Linked DNA regions of Homo sapiens: region 1 is linked to region 2. The links are contacts of gene promoters, found by promoter capture Hi-C in blood cells and fetal thymus (Javierre and others, 2016). All regions are on one chromosome and are shown on one strand. The core of a region is centred on a gene start or on the middle of the fragment in contact, and the rest is flanking DNA. Distances in the headings are between cores, read along the strand shown. Region 1 overlaps LOC105369422 (a long non-coding RNA gene). Region 2 holds the start of CTSC (cathepsin C).

Evidence for each region. The method cuts DNA at HindIII sites, captures the fragments that hold promoters and counts their contacts. A CHiCAGO score of 5 or more calls a contact.
Region 1: a contact is called between a fragment that was not itself captured here and the fragment with the promoter of CTSC in region 2, in 1 of 17 cell types (non-activated CD4 T cells). The highest score is 6.0, in non-activated CD4 T cells.

What each region holds. Positions count from the first base shown.
Region 1 is chr11:87,031,063-87,037,579 of GRCh38, reverse strand. All of the region lies in intron 1 of LOC105369422 (a long non-coding RNA gene), which reads left to right. Among named protein-coding and RNA genes, the nearest start is that of TMEM135, 3.6 kb to the left of the region's middle. RefSeq lists a silencer at 1-14 and an enhancer at 1-171. The HindIII fragment of the contact is 2,330 bases long and covers 1,420-3,749 here.
Region 2 is chr11:88,335,735-88,342,693 of GRCh38, reverse strand. CTSC (cathepsin C) reads left to right here and starts at 4,958. Exons shown (of 7, transcript NM_001814.6): 1 at 4,958-5,193. The coding sequence starts at 5,022. It overlaps LOC101929174 (a long non-coding RNA gene), which reads right to left and starts at 4,810. Exons shown (of 5, transcript NR_188511.1): 1 at 4,638-4,810. RefSeq lists an enhancer at 4,963-5,242. The HindIII fragment of the contact is 10,462 bases long and covers 3,687-6,959 here.

The DNA of each region.
Region 1 (6,517 bases), core at 1,335-3,834, 1.3 Mb after region 2:
CAACTGCAAGCCAAGTAGAGCGGAGGGTAGTGGAAGAAAGGGATTAAATGTCTTTGTTGGGAGCTGGTGGAGGAAGAGGGTTGCCAGAGGAATGCCTGGGACAAACGTCCTCCCCAGCACCGGGAGCTTGCCTTCCCGAGAGTCCCAGGTAATAAACAGCTAGGGCTGCCTGCTAGTTGCAACTAACTACCCCCAAGTGCTGGGCTTTCCAAGCTCTGTGATACCTGCGAAGGCTTGAAAAGTCTCAGCTATGTTCATACCCCGACCGTGTGTGGGGAAGGGCAATAGGTCATCCTGTCCAAACCTTAGGCCACGGAGCAATCCTGTCTACAGCATCTTTGATAGGTGCTTATCAACCAAACAGCACACACAGTAGAGGCGGCAGTCGTGTGTTAGAACTCAGACCTGGCTAGGGAACTTGGCCAACAATTAGCAAGACAAGGGTCCTGTGTTGCTTGAGTCATATAACCCCTCTGTCAATCTCCTCACATGTAACAAACCTGCCAGTTTCTTTGGATTTCTAAATTCCATAGTCTCTTAAAGCAGAAACGAACTACCTTTAGAAGAATTCCATTCGAATCTTCTAGTCTTCATTCATTCATCTACAAATATTTACTGAGTCATTACTATTTACCAGGCACTGTGCTAAGGAAACAAACAGAAACAAGAGAGACAAGATTTTTATTTTCACGAAGCTAGTATTCTAGAGGGAGAAGACAGAAAATAACAAAGAAAACTGAACAAGATAATATCAGATAGGTGTAGTTGTTTGAAGAAAATAAAAGAGAAATACTCAGATGAAAAGTCCAAAACAACAATGGCAAAAAGATAAAAGTATCTTTCTCTCAGGTAAAGGTAGGCAGTCCTAGAATAAAATGGTGGCTCCATAACGATTAGGGATCCCAGCCTCTTTGTGACAGTTTGCTATGCCATCTGCTACCTGTGATTTCCACCCTAACTTAGAAAATAACATGACATCAACATGCTAGCCAGGAAGACCAGCAAAAGGGGAAGAGAGGCCGGGCGCGGTGGCTCACACCTGTAATCCTAGTACTTTGAGAGGCTGAGGCGGGTGGATCACTTGAGGTCAGGAGTTTGAGACCAGCCTGGCCAACATGGTGAAACCCTGTCTCTACTAAAAATACAAAAATTTGCCAGAAATGGTGACACGCTCCTGTAATCGTAGCTACTCAGGGACTGAGGCAGGAGAATCGCTTGAACTCAGGAGGCAGAGGTTGCAGTGGGCCAAGATCACACCACTGTTGCCTTGGCAACAGAGAGAGACTCTATCTCAAAAAAAAAAAAAAAAAAAAAACGGGGGGGCGGGGGCGGGGAGAAAAGGGCATACTTCCTGTTTTTAAAAAAACTTCCCAGAAGATCCATACAAACTACTACAACTTACGTTCCTTGGACAAAGCTTAATCACATGGCCACACTTCATTGCAAGAGAGGATGGTGAATACAATCTTTTTTAATTAATGGGACAAATGCCCAGCTAACATTTGAGGTTTTATTACTGAGCAAAATGGAAAAAACAGATATTAGAGGCAACTAGCAGTGTCTGCCATAGTTCTATGTCTCTGGCTACCCAAATATCCGGGCACACCATTCTTTCTACAGATAGACATACCTTCCCTTTTCCAAGGGAGACAACCTAAAATTCCATGCAGTTGCTGAATCCTAGCCAAAGTCCAGAATATTCCTCAGGACCAGATGCAGATCTCATGATAAAGTTATCATCCGCCTCAACACATCCAATATACAATGGTAGAATAGGAACAAGATAATCACAATTTTTTTCAAATCTCCAATTCAGAAACTAAGAAGATCAAAAACACAGCATAAACTTATCCAAAAAATTACAGAAATAGCAGTGCAGGCTTATTTTTTTTCAATAATCCATTCCTGAATATCTGTGATCCTTTCACAAGAAAATGCTGAATAGGAACTTAGTTTTAAATGGGAAAAAATAAAATGCATTACATATCAACCAAAAAATTCTTAACAAGTATTTAAAACATAGTATCAAATATTAACAAAAAATGATCATGTTAAGATGTACAATACTATACAAATAACATCTTATTCACCAAACAATTAATACGAGCTGGGCACGGTGGCTGATACCTATAATCCCAACACTTTGGGAGGCTGAGCTTGGTGGATCACCTGAGGTCATAAGTTCAAGACCAGCCTGGCCTATGGTGAAACTCCATCTCTACTAAAAATACAAAAAGTAGCCAGACATGGTGGTGGACACCTGTAATCCCAGCTACTCAGGAGGCTGAGGCAGGAGAATCACTTGAACCTGGGAGGCGGAGGTTGCAGTGAGCCGAGATGGTGCCACTACACTCCAGCCTGGGCAACAGAACAAGACTCCGTCTCAAAAAAAAAAAAATTTTTAATATGATTGTTAACTCTCAGTTGCTTCTGAATGTAATAGCACAATATAGTTTTCATGCCTGATAATAAACAATATGTTTACTATGTGGCCCAGCAATTACACATTAATAAATAAGGAAATTTTAAAATTACAATTAAAACCAGGTGGTTTCTTTTAGTTAACTGTTTTTTGTTTGTTTTGAGACATGGTCTCACTCTGCTACCCAGGCTGAAGTGCAGTGGCGCAATCACAGCTCACAGCAGCCTATATCCCCTGGGCTCAGGAGATCCTCCTGCCTCAGCCTCCTGAGTAGCTGGGACCACAGGTACGCCACCACACCTGGCTAATGTTTTTAAATTATTTGTAGGGTCTCCCTGTGTTACCCAGACTGCTCTTGAACTCCTGGGCTCAAGCTGTCCACCCACCTCAGCCTCCCAAACTGCTGGGATTACAGGTGTGCACCAACACACCTGGTCCTAATTAACTGTTAAATGGAGACTTGAAGCATAAAGAAATTTGAGAAAAAGGGGATGGTGCCAAAGGGGACAATGCTGATGAGCTGGGTGGCAAAGGGGTGATTTCAGGGAAACTCCCAAGTTCAAAAGAAAGGATACTCTATCTTTTCTAGTGCTGCTATGGAGATTCCAAAACAGGAAGGCATTGATAAATCCTCAGGGGAGATGATCTGTGCTTTAGGATGCAAAAAAAATTGCAAAATGGAGCAGTATGCAGTTAAACCAGTAGCTTACATTTGTAAATTTCTTTATATGGTATTATAAGATATAGCAGGCTGTTTTTTAAAAGAAAGCCTTCTCTTCATGCCACCATTAAGTTTAAAGATAATGTTAAACATTGCATCTGCATGGGTCATTTATTCTTTTAGGTTGGCTATGACAGTGGCTTGATTGGATACTTTCTGGGGGCTTCATTGTTTCTTCTTTTTCATTAAAAAAACGCAGGGAGGGCTTTAGGGTTCATCAACAAGGTGAAGCAAAGAGTTTCTCCAAAGAAGGTGCACAGTGGATGAAGAAAACTAATCTGGCAATTTATGATGGAATTCAAAGGCTTTGAAGAAACGCCAAGATGAAAATTGTTGCCCCTTTCTTTGTGATGGAAGAATGAAAAAAAAAAAAAAAACACAAAGTTGTTGCTCTTGTAGGATTCTAGTTTTGAAGATGTCAACGAAAAAGAATGGAAGAGCTCTTAAGATCTAATGCAGAGGATTTAACGACACTAATCTAGTTTAGATCTACATGCAGTCATTGTAGAAATAATTATCAGGCACAAGTACAATGGCAAAGTACGGCAAACTCGAAGTATGACACTGTAGTAGCTCTTGATTCCAGCAACAGTCAGTAACCAAGCTTTTCACAAAGCTACATATGATTCTGATTTTCTTTTCTTTTCTTTTCTTTTGAGACGGAGTCTTGCTGTGTCACCCAAGCTGGAGTGCAATGGGACGATCTCGGCTCACTGCAAACTCCGCCTCCTGGGCTCAAGTGATTCTTCTGCCTCACTAGCTGAGATTAGTGGCACCCACCACCACACCCGGCTAATTTCTGTATTTTTAGTAGAGACGGGGTTTCACCATGTAGTCCAGGCTGGTCCCAAACTCCCTGACCTTAGGTAATTCACCTGCCTCAGCCTCCCAAAGTGCTGGGATTACAGACATGAGCCACCATGCCCAGCCATAATTCTAATTTTCTACTAATTTTTGTTGCAACATAACTTCAGGTTTTTCCTTACGTCATTTTATTTAAAATATTGAGTTTCTAATATGTAAATATAAATTTTAATATTCAAATCTGGAGTATTAAAAGATACATATGCCCTTTCAGTCCAAGTAGGCAGTGTGTCTGCCAATACAATTCTCTTTAAGATTTTGGGGACTTCATATATATCAAATTATAATCCACTCCAATAGAAAAAAAAGCCACACTCACAAACCTCTGAGACAAACACTTTCCGTCTTGGGCTGAGAGTAAGAAAGCTGATGGAAAACACCCTTATACACTTAGAAGTGCTTTTGTCTAGCTGAAATGGTCTAGGTAAAATGGCTTTAAATCTTTGTACAGTCTTTACAAAAAATCTAAATAGCTGCACCCTGGATTGTACCTTCCCCTTAAGGCAATGCCTTAGTTGTTTCACCATCTGGAGAGGCTGGAAGTGAAAAGCAGTTTTATTTTTGAACCCAAAGTTCCCAGACTGTGTATATTTTCTCTAAATTTTGCTTAAAAATGAAATTGTTCCTTTTATATCTCACCTCTCTACATCTTATTCCACATAGGTTTTTTTTTTTTAATCAGTTGGCATTTTCAACAGTCTGTCTGGAAATTTCCTTAACTGCAAATACACCAGTTTGTTAGATATATTTTCTATTTTCTGCATTTCAGCATGCAACAGTGTTGCCAAACTTTCTGCCACTGCATAACAGGGATCCCTTTTTCTCCAGCCTTTCCTAACAGTTTCCTCCCTTCAAGCCTTCAAAGATTGTAGAAAAAACTCTCAAGTGGCCTTACAAAATATTCAGGTACATACACTGTCTAGAATTCTCAGCATCTATATTAGTTTGATGTTACCAGTACTTGGAAGCTACAGCTAAGGACACCATTCTCTCCAAACCCCTACCACTCCAACCACAGAATGTAAAAGTAAAAGATACTTTTGGAGGCTGAGGTGGGAGGATCACGAGGTCGGGAGATCGAGACCATCCTGGCTAACACAGTGAAACCCTGTCTCTACTAAAAATACAAAACAAATTAGCCGGGCATGGTGGCAGGCGCCTGTAGTCCCAGCTACTTGGGAGGCTGAGGCAGGAGAATGGCGTGAACCCAGGAAGCGGAGCTTGCAGTGAGCCGAGATGGTGCCACTGCACTCCAGCCTGGACAACAGAGCAAGACTCCATCTCAAATAAATAAATAAATAAATAAATAAATAATAAAAAAGTAAAAGATTTATGATTATTCTTTGAGAGGAAAAACACAAAATCAACATGTAGATGTGTACAAGGAATGCTTTAGAGGCCAGCCACATCTCTCTAAAAACAGTAGACTTATGCAATAACATATCTGTAGAAGACAAGTGTATTGATAGAATTGGAAGAAAAAAAAACGAGGAGCCCCCTGAGGCAATTCAGGTGCATGCCTGGGAATGAGAACTGCAGCCCAGGGACCTCAGGAATTAACTATGAAATGGGATGCATAGCTTCTCCTGGACAGATGTCATTAAATAACTGACTCATCTAACTAATGTTTTCTTTCTGAGAATAAAACAAACTTTTATTACAGTTTGGCTTCCCATGCAGGTCTGTCTTGAGAGACAGAATGGTTATATATTAGGTAACAGATATCCTAGTTTGTATGACAGGTTTTAATTTTCTATTGTTATTTAATAAATTGGCAGCTTGATTTATGCACTCATTTATAAGCTTGTTTTATATCACTTAGCCTGAGAAAGGAAGAGCCTCCCTGATATGCTTCCAAAGCCAGGTTTTTTACCCTGGTTGTTTGTGGCAATAAATTCTGTATTAGCCAAGAATGGTTAGGCTATGCCGAGATACCACATACACTCTAAATCTCAGAGAATTTAAAATAAGAAAGATTTATTTTGTGTTTACACAAACTCCAAAGCAGACTGGCCAGTTCTTCAGGGCAAGGGCAACCAGTGATTCAGGAATATAGCCTCTTCCATCTGCACTGGGCCTTCGTCAGTGGTCACTTTTTTTAATTTTTTCCTTGCTTCTTTGATTTTTCATGTGTGCATAATTTTTAGTTCTTTTGCATAGCAGCATGCACAAAATTTAAGTGTACAGCTTGATGAATTTTTAAATTTGCCTTTACTGAGACTACTATTTGCCCTGAGACTGCTATGCAGATTAAAAAAAAGTATTTCCATCACCCCAGAAGGCTCTTTAGTGCCCCTTCCCAGTAAATACACCTGCAAACAGAGGTAACCACTATTCTCACTTCTAGCATCATAGCTTCATTTTGCCTGTTCCTAAAGCTTATAGTAACAAATGCATACGTTGAATATTTTTTGTGTCTGGCTTCCTTCACTCAAGATCTTATGCATGTTGTCGTATGTAGCTATAGTTCATTCATTTTTATTGCTATATTGGGTCTATTGTATGAATAT
Region 2 (6,959 bases), core at 3,709-6,208:
AAACTCCTTAGAGATCATTTAAGTGGTCATGATCAGAATGCTGATAGAAATATGAATAGAAAAGACCATTCCGATGAGGTCCCAGATGGAAATGAGGAACAAGGTATTGGAAACTGGAGTAAAGGCCATCGCTGCTATAAACTGGCTAAGACCTTGGCTAAATTCTGTCCATGTCCTAGGACTTTATGAAATGCAGAACTTAACAGTGATAAACTAGGATATCTGGTGGAAGGAATATCTAAGCAGCAAAGTATTTAGGCTACTAAATGGCTTCTTTTAACTACTTATAGTAAGATATAAGAAAAAACAGAATAGAAAAACATTAGAAAATTTGAAGCCTGGCCACCTTAACAGTGAAAGGGGTGTTTGGGTATGGTCAAGAGATTGCTAAAGAGGTCACCATGGATAGAATGAAGCCAAAGGCTATCCATGACAATGAAATTAAAAACCCCAGAGGCATTTCTGGGATCTTTGAGGCTGCCCCTTCCTCATAGGCCCTGAGCTCTAAGAGGGCAGAATAATTCCGGGGATGGACTGCTGCCCAGGGCTGCTTTGGGTCTCTACTCCCTGCGTTCCAGCACACTGCTCCTCAGCGCCCCCAGCTGTGGTTCAAGCAGCCACAGGTGCAGATTAACCTGCAGCTCTAGGATGTACAAGTGGTAAACCATGGCAGTATCCATGTGGTACTAATTCTGCAGGTGCATAGAATGCAAGAGCTGTGGAGGCCTGGCAGCCTCCACCTAGATTTTGAAGAATGTGTTGGACTGTCTGAGGGTAGAGCTACTGCAGAGAGCTTCCACTAGGGCAATACGAAGTGGAACAGTGGAACTGGGGTTGTTGCATAGAGCCCCCCTAAGGGCAATGCCTAATGCAGCTGTAAGAGCCAGACTGCCACCAGGACCCCAGAACAGTAGAGCCACCAGCAGCATGCAATACCTGCCTGGGAAAGCTGAGGGCACCAGGGTGCCTTGAGGCCTCCTGAAATACCCCATCCCCCAATGTGCACAAGATGCTGTACATGGAATCAAGAAAGATTATTCTCCAGCCTTAAAATTTAAGTCTTCTCTGCTGAGTTTTTGACTTGCTTGGGCCTGTTACTTCTTTCTTCTGGCCTGTTTGTCTCTTTTGGAAAGGGAGTGTATACCTTATACCTGTCCCACCATTGTATCTAGGAAGTAGATAACTTGTTTTGATTTCACAAACTCCCAGATGACACTTTAGACTTTTGAGTTGGTGCTGGAACAAATTCAGTCTTTTGGGACTACTAGGATGGAATGACTGTATTTTGAATTGTGAGAAGGCCATGAATTCTGGGGGTCAGGGACAGAATGCTGTGGTTTGAACATAGGTTGTCCCCCAAAAGTCATGTGTCGAGAGGTGGGACCTTTGAGAAGTGATTGGCAGTGCCCTCATGAATGGATGAATCTATCATGGGTTAATAGATTAATGGATTATGGAATTATCAAGGATTAGTTATCATGAGGGTGGGTCTGTAATAAGCACTAGTTTGGCCATCTCTCATGACCCCCTTTGCCACGTGATACCCTGTACTACCTTGGGATTCTGCAAAGAGTCTCAACCAGCAAGAAGGGCCCCCTTCGATGGGGCCTCTTGACCTTGGACTTACCTGTCTCTAGAACTATAAAAAATAATTTTCTTTGTTTTAAATTACCGAGTCTCAGGTACAGTTCTAGCAACAGAAAACAGACTAAGACAGATGCTGATGTCCCTGGTCCTAGGCTACACTTTGAGAACCACTGCCAAGTAATGCTGCCTCTCTGTAAACCTGCTTTTAATGATGGGAGCCTACTGACAGACCATGTTTTGCACATAAGCTCACTTTTGTTTTATATAATTTTAACATATACTGAATTTTTGGGAATGCAACCTCTTGATAAACCTTCAACAGAAAATTCTACTTTGTTCTCCTGGGAATTTGACCAAGAATTGTCCAACATCAACAACTTTGGTATGGTGTTTGAGTGATTAATTGATAAGGTATTTGAGTTATAACTCATCAGAAATCATTTGTGCTCTCAGAAAAAAGTTCCTATCACATTTACCACGATTCTACAATTTTACATAGAAGTGAAACCACCTTTGCAAAAATTACAACTGTGAAAGAAATCAGACCTAATCGACTCCATCTTGCTTCTAATCTTTAAGCTGTCCTTTTTCATTCCTGGGCATAGGTGGAACAAACTTTGGGAAGTAATTCAGTTCATGGTTTGACTCTGAAACAAAATTGATAATAGCCCTTTCCCAAAAAGACTCCCTTCTTGCCTGGGGACCAGTCTGCCTTCGCAGGACTAACAAATTAGCTACAAGATTAGAAATTACAGTTTAGGGGTCATGTGGCCTCTGGCTCCAAGAGTCTGCACCCTCCCACCCTCCAAGTTGCTTCTGGGGATAACATCTCTATTGTAAAATCTAAGATCAGTGCTTGAGATATTTTACAGACCCTGCACTCCATAGATCAGCTGACACCACTGAGACCAGCAATCTGGCTCAACCATATCTGCCATCCCACCCAGGAACAGAAGATAGCAAGAAAAACTCACTTAGACCCCCTATGATTCCATCTCCAACCTAACCAATCAGCACTCCCCACTTCCCAAGCCCCTACCCACCAAATTATCTTTGAAAACTCTGATCCCTGAATGCTCGGGGAGACTGATTTGAGTGATAATAAAACTCCCGTCTCCCCCACAGCCGGCTCTGTATGAATTACTCTTCCTCCATTGCAATTCCCCTGTCTTGATAAATTGGCTCTGTCTAGGCAGCAGGCCAGGTGAATCCATTGGGTGGTTACAGAAGTGTGAAGAGCAAGTATCTGAGTGCCTCATTATGTTTTCCAACACAGTCATACTTGAACATTTTACATGATGGGATATAACTTATTATACTAGAAATATATTTAAAATATCTGATTTCTTCTTTATATTACATTTGGCATTACATTTCTTTTTATTAAGTGTGTAAGCAGTTTATATATTAATTTCATTTCAGAAAGTAAAGGATTTGGGGTCTGATCAGTTTGAGAATCAATTTTTTGTGTGTGCGTGGAATGGAGAGTTAGTAGTTATTTTTGAGAGAGAACAGTATGGGAATTATTAGATTAGTAGAAATAAACTAAACTGAAAATCAATGTGCCTGAGGTTCATTCTTAAATCTTACTAAGTGGCAATATGACATTCAGCAAGTGATTTAACTCTCTGAATCTCCATTTCCCAATTTTAAAATGAATCCATTAGACTAAGAGGTCCACAAGATCTTTTTCTATTATTCAATCATTGAATAAAGACTGTTTTAAACTTTCTTTACAATTAAGTGTGTTGCTTTGATTACATTCATCAAAGAAATTTCCACCTAAACTGGCTCTTCAATATTGATGACCTAATACAAATTTAATGTTTTAACAATCAGTAACACACCTTCCTAGAGATTCAGGAAGGGAAGCTTAATCTGTCAGGGTATCTTTAAATAAATAGTGTGTTAGCTTAATTATACAATGTCAGCTTTCAATTCTAAGAAGGTATATAAAACCTAAAAGCAAGGTGTTCCCCAACCCCCCGCCACCAACCCCGCCCCAGGCTTTGGAAATTTGTGCCCCCATTGAAGAGTATTTTCACCTCTGAACTTTCAAGGACAACTCCTTTTGCCTCATTGAAACTGGCTTTCAAGCTTGGCAACCAAGATAAGAATATTAAGTACACTTATTTTAACACTCAAGGACACTTTCTGAATAAACCAGAATCTAGGGAGATATAAGTGAATAATTTGGACCTGCTCTCTTTGAATGTTTATAATCTGGTGGAAAAAAAATGGACATATGAATATTGATTTGTGACCAGTGCAAAGGGGGCAAAAATTCATATCCCAAAGAAAACGGGGACACATCAGGTCTGTCTTGTTCATCACTGTGTCCACAGGGCCTGACACCTAGTAGGCTCAGTGGGAGAAAGGAGCCCCAATTACCAACAAAAGCCAGGAAAGAACGGGAGGCTCTTACGGAAAAGGGTGATACTTAAACTGAGCAAGGAGGCACCTGGAAATAGTGCCACCTAATAATTTTTGGCGATCAGACTGACACACTAGAACGGTTCATAAGACCAGCCTTCTCCCATTGGCTAGCTTCCTTCCTCACCCTTCTCACCCTGGGCAAGCCGCTTCCTCTCTCTGGGCCTCTTGCTTTTCCTCTGTAACATAAAAGGGGTTGAGCAATATCATCTCTGAGAGCGCCATGTGTGTGCGTGCCAGAGGGAAAACCCCCACAACGCTAATACATCAAAACTGCAGGTTTGCACAAAAACTGAATTCTGCTGAATGCAAACAGGCAAACAGCATTTACCAGGAAACAAAACAAAATCAAGCACATAAAAAAGTAGGAAGAGTTGGAAAACGGAAGGAAGATAAGTTCTCAAACAGCTGGAATAGTTGATGTTAGCTAGCGAAGTTTTTCAGAGGAAAAAACAAGAAGTTGGTTATGAGGCAAGTGGACCTGAGAAAAAAGACTAAAGGGGAAGAATAGCAAGTAAAACAGAACTCCACTTGCTAGATCTCTCCCTCTGTCGCGCTCTTTCACCTGACCCACTCCCTTATTCCCCCCACACCCTTTCCTTCTCTCCCTACGTTACCGCACAGGAACGAAGTCTGGGTCATGTGCGGACCGCTTGTGGCTCTTAAATCCTCTTTTTGTCACCCTGGCCGTGCAAAATTTTGAAACGTCCCTCGGCAAAAAAAATAAAAATAAAAAAAAAAAATCTGTCCCTGGCCTCTTCCCTAGTTCTGGGTCCAGTTGCAGCCAAGTGAGGGGCAGCGCGCGCTCCCAAGTCCCCGTTTCAGAGACGCGCACGCGCCTGGCGCCCAACCCCCAATCCCCTGCTGCTCAGTGACCCCGCCCACGGGTTTCCGGGCCGGCGTAGCTATTTCAAGGCGCGCGCCTCGTGGTGGACTCACCGCTAGCCCGCAGCGCTCGGCTTCCTGGTAATTCTTCACCTCTTTTCTCAGCTCCCTGCAGCATGGGTGCTGGGCCCTCCTTGCTGCTCGCCGCCCTCCTGCTGCTTCTCTCCGGCGACGGCGCCGTGCGCTGCGACACACCTGCCAACTGCACCTATCTTGACCTGCTGGGCACCTGGGTCTTCCAGGTGGGCTCCAGCGGTTCCCAGCGCGATGTCAACTGCTCGGTTATGGGTAAGCCGCCGGCTCGGCAGTCCTCCGGGTCGTCCTTTCTGCCCTTGAGCCCCTAACGCAGCGCCACGCCAACTACCGCTTCCCCCCAGGCAGACGCTTGTGGGTGGCCAGAGCATCTTGACTGGATTCGGGGACCCTTGGGGACCTTCTTCCCCGCCAGGCTCGCGAAGTTAAAGTTCATCTGCTGAGAACTTCTAACTCCACACTTTCTTGGTTATCTTGGGGACTCAACACTTTGATCAAGAACTTTTTTATTCCTCCCGCTTAATTTTGTTTGCTTTGAGAGAGACTTGGGAACTGCAATCGTTTGGTTCTCCAGTCCGATCTGGTAGCGTTATTTTTAAAATTTATTTTTATTTTTTATTACTATTTTACTAGTGAAGATAGATGAGCTCAGAGACTCTCGAGGATATAGCATGAAGTTTTCTCTTTTTGTTAGATGGTGGGAAAGGGACTTTCTGCCCAGCGATTTTGGTTTGAGCGGGTGTTGATGAGTACTAGAAAACGGCTAGTACCACTCTGCATTGTTTCATGCATTGCAAGGAGGTAAAAATTTTTTAAAAAATTAATAACAAAGAAAACTTAACTCTGAACCTAGTAATTAGAAATGCCCAGAGTCTGCACAATGTTTGGCTCATGGAAGGCTCTCAATAAATACCTAGTGTTTGAACATACTGGAGATATTCCATATGCCTTCAGATAACATGGTTACCCCTAGAACAAAGAACCTAGTGAAGGGGGTGGGGTGGAAAAAAGACAATCACTAGTTAGAAGAGTCACACTGTGGTCTACCCAAACCCTCTTACAGCCTGTGACTTCTGCAGAGTCAGTAAAAAATCAGCTATAATTTTCTTGTCAACAGAACAAAGATTAAGTCATTTGTTACTAAAGAAATACCTTTTTAACTGACTGTATAGCATTTCATAATCCTGAACATTGTAACTTTTTTTTTTTTTTTTTTGAGAATGGAGTCTTGCTCTGTCACCCAGGCTGTAGTTCAGTGGCGGGATCTCGGCTCACTGCAACCTCCGCCTCCCGGGTTTAAGCGATTCTCCTGCCTCAGTCTCCCGAGTAGCTAGGATTACGGGCACATGCCACCACGCCCGGCTAATATTTTGTATTTTTAGTAGAGACGGGTTTCACTGTGTTAGCCAGGATGGTCTCCATCTCCTGACCTCGTGATCCGCCCGCCTCGGCCTCCCAAAGTACTGGGATTACAGGCGGGAGTCACCACGCCTGGCCTTTTTTTTTTTTTTTTTTTTAAATTTGAGTTTGAAGGTTGGGGCAGAAAGAGATCAGGATTTGCACTGCCCTGTCACATGCAATCTCCCATGTCAGAGCATTACTCTCAAACATGGAAAAACTTTAAAATACACAACTCTCCAGATGGACACAGCTGAATCATTTTCAGGAAGGCTCTGCCTATAAAATTACCTTTGGCCTTAATTCAGTAATTAAAGGCACCCACAGGTCTGAGCCCTCATCTATGAAGGTTAAACGTATCATTCCTATCAGCACTAATTGGTTTTATAGGATACAGACCTCTAGTTTGCTGAATAAACTTTGGAAGGATTCAGATTATGAGGTTCTAAACTGTAGAGCCTTTGAGGAGAAAGGTACCCCATTTCTTCTCCGAATAGATCATTTTGTGTCTTCTCCTGGGCTTAGCACATTGTCTTCCTTAGGATCTGATAGTCTGTTTATTTATCTTTTTGTTGTCATACCTTTTATTCTTGCATTTCCCACTTTTGACTAGCATTTTGCCT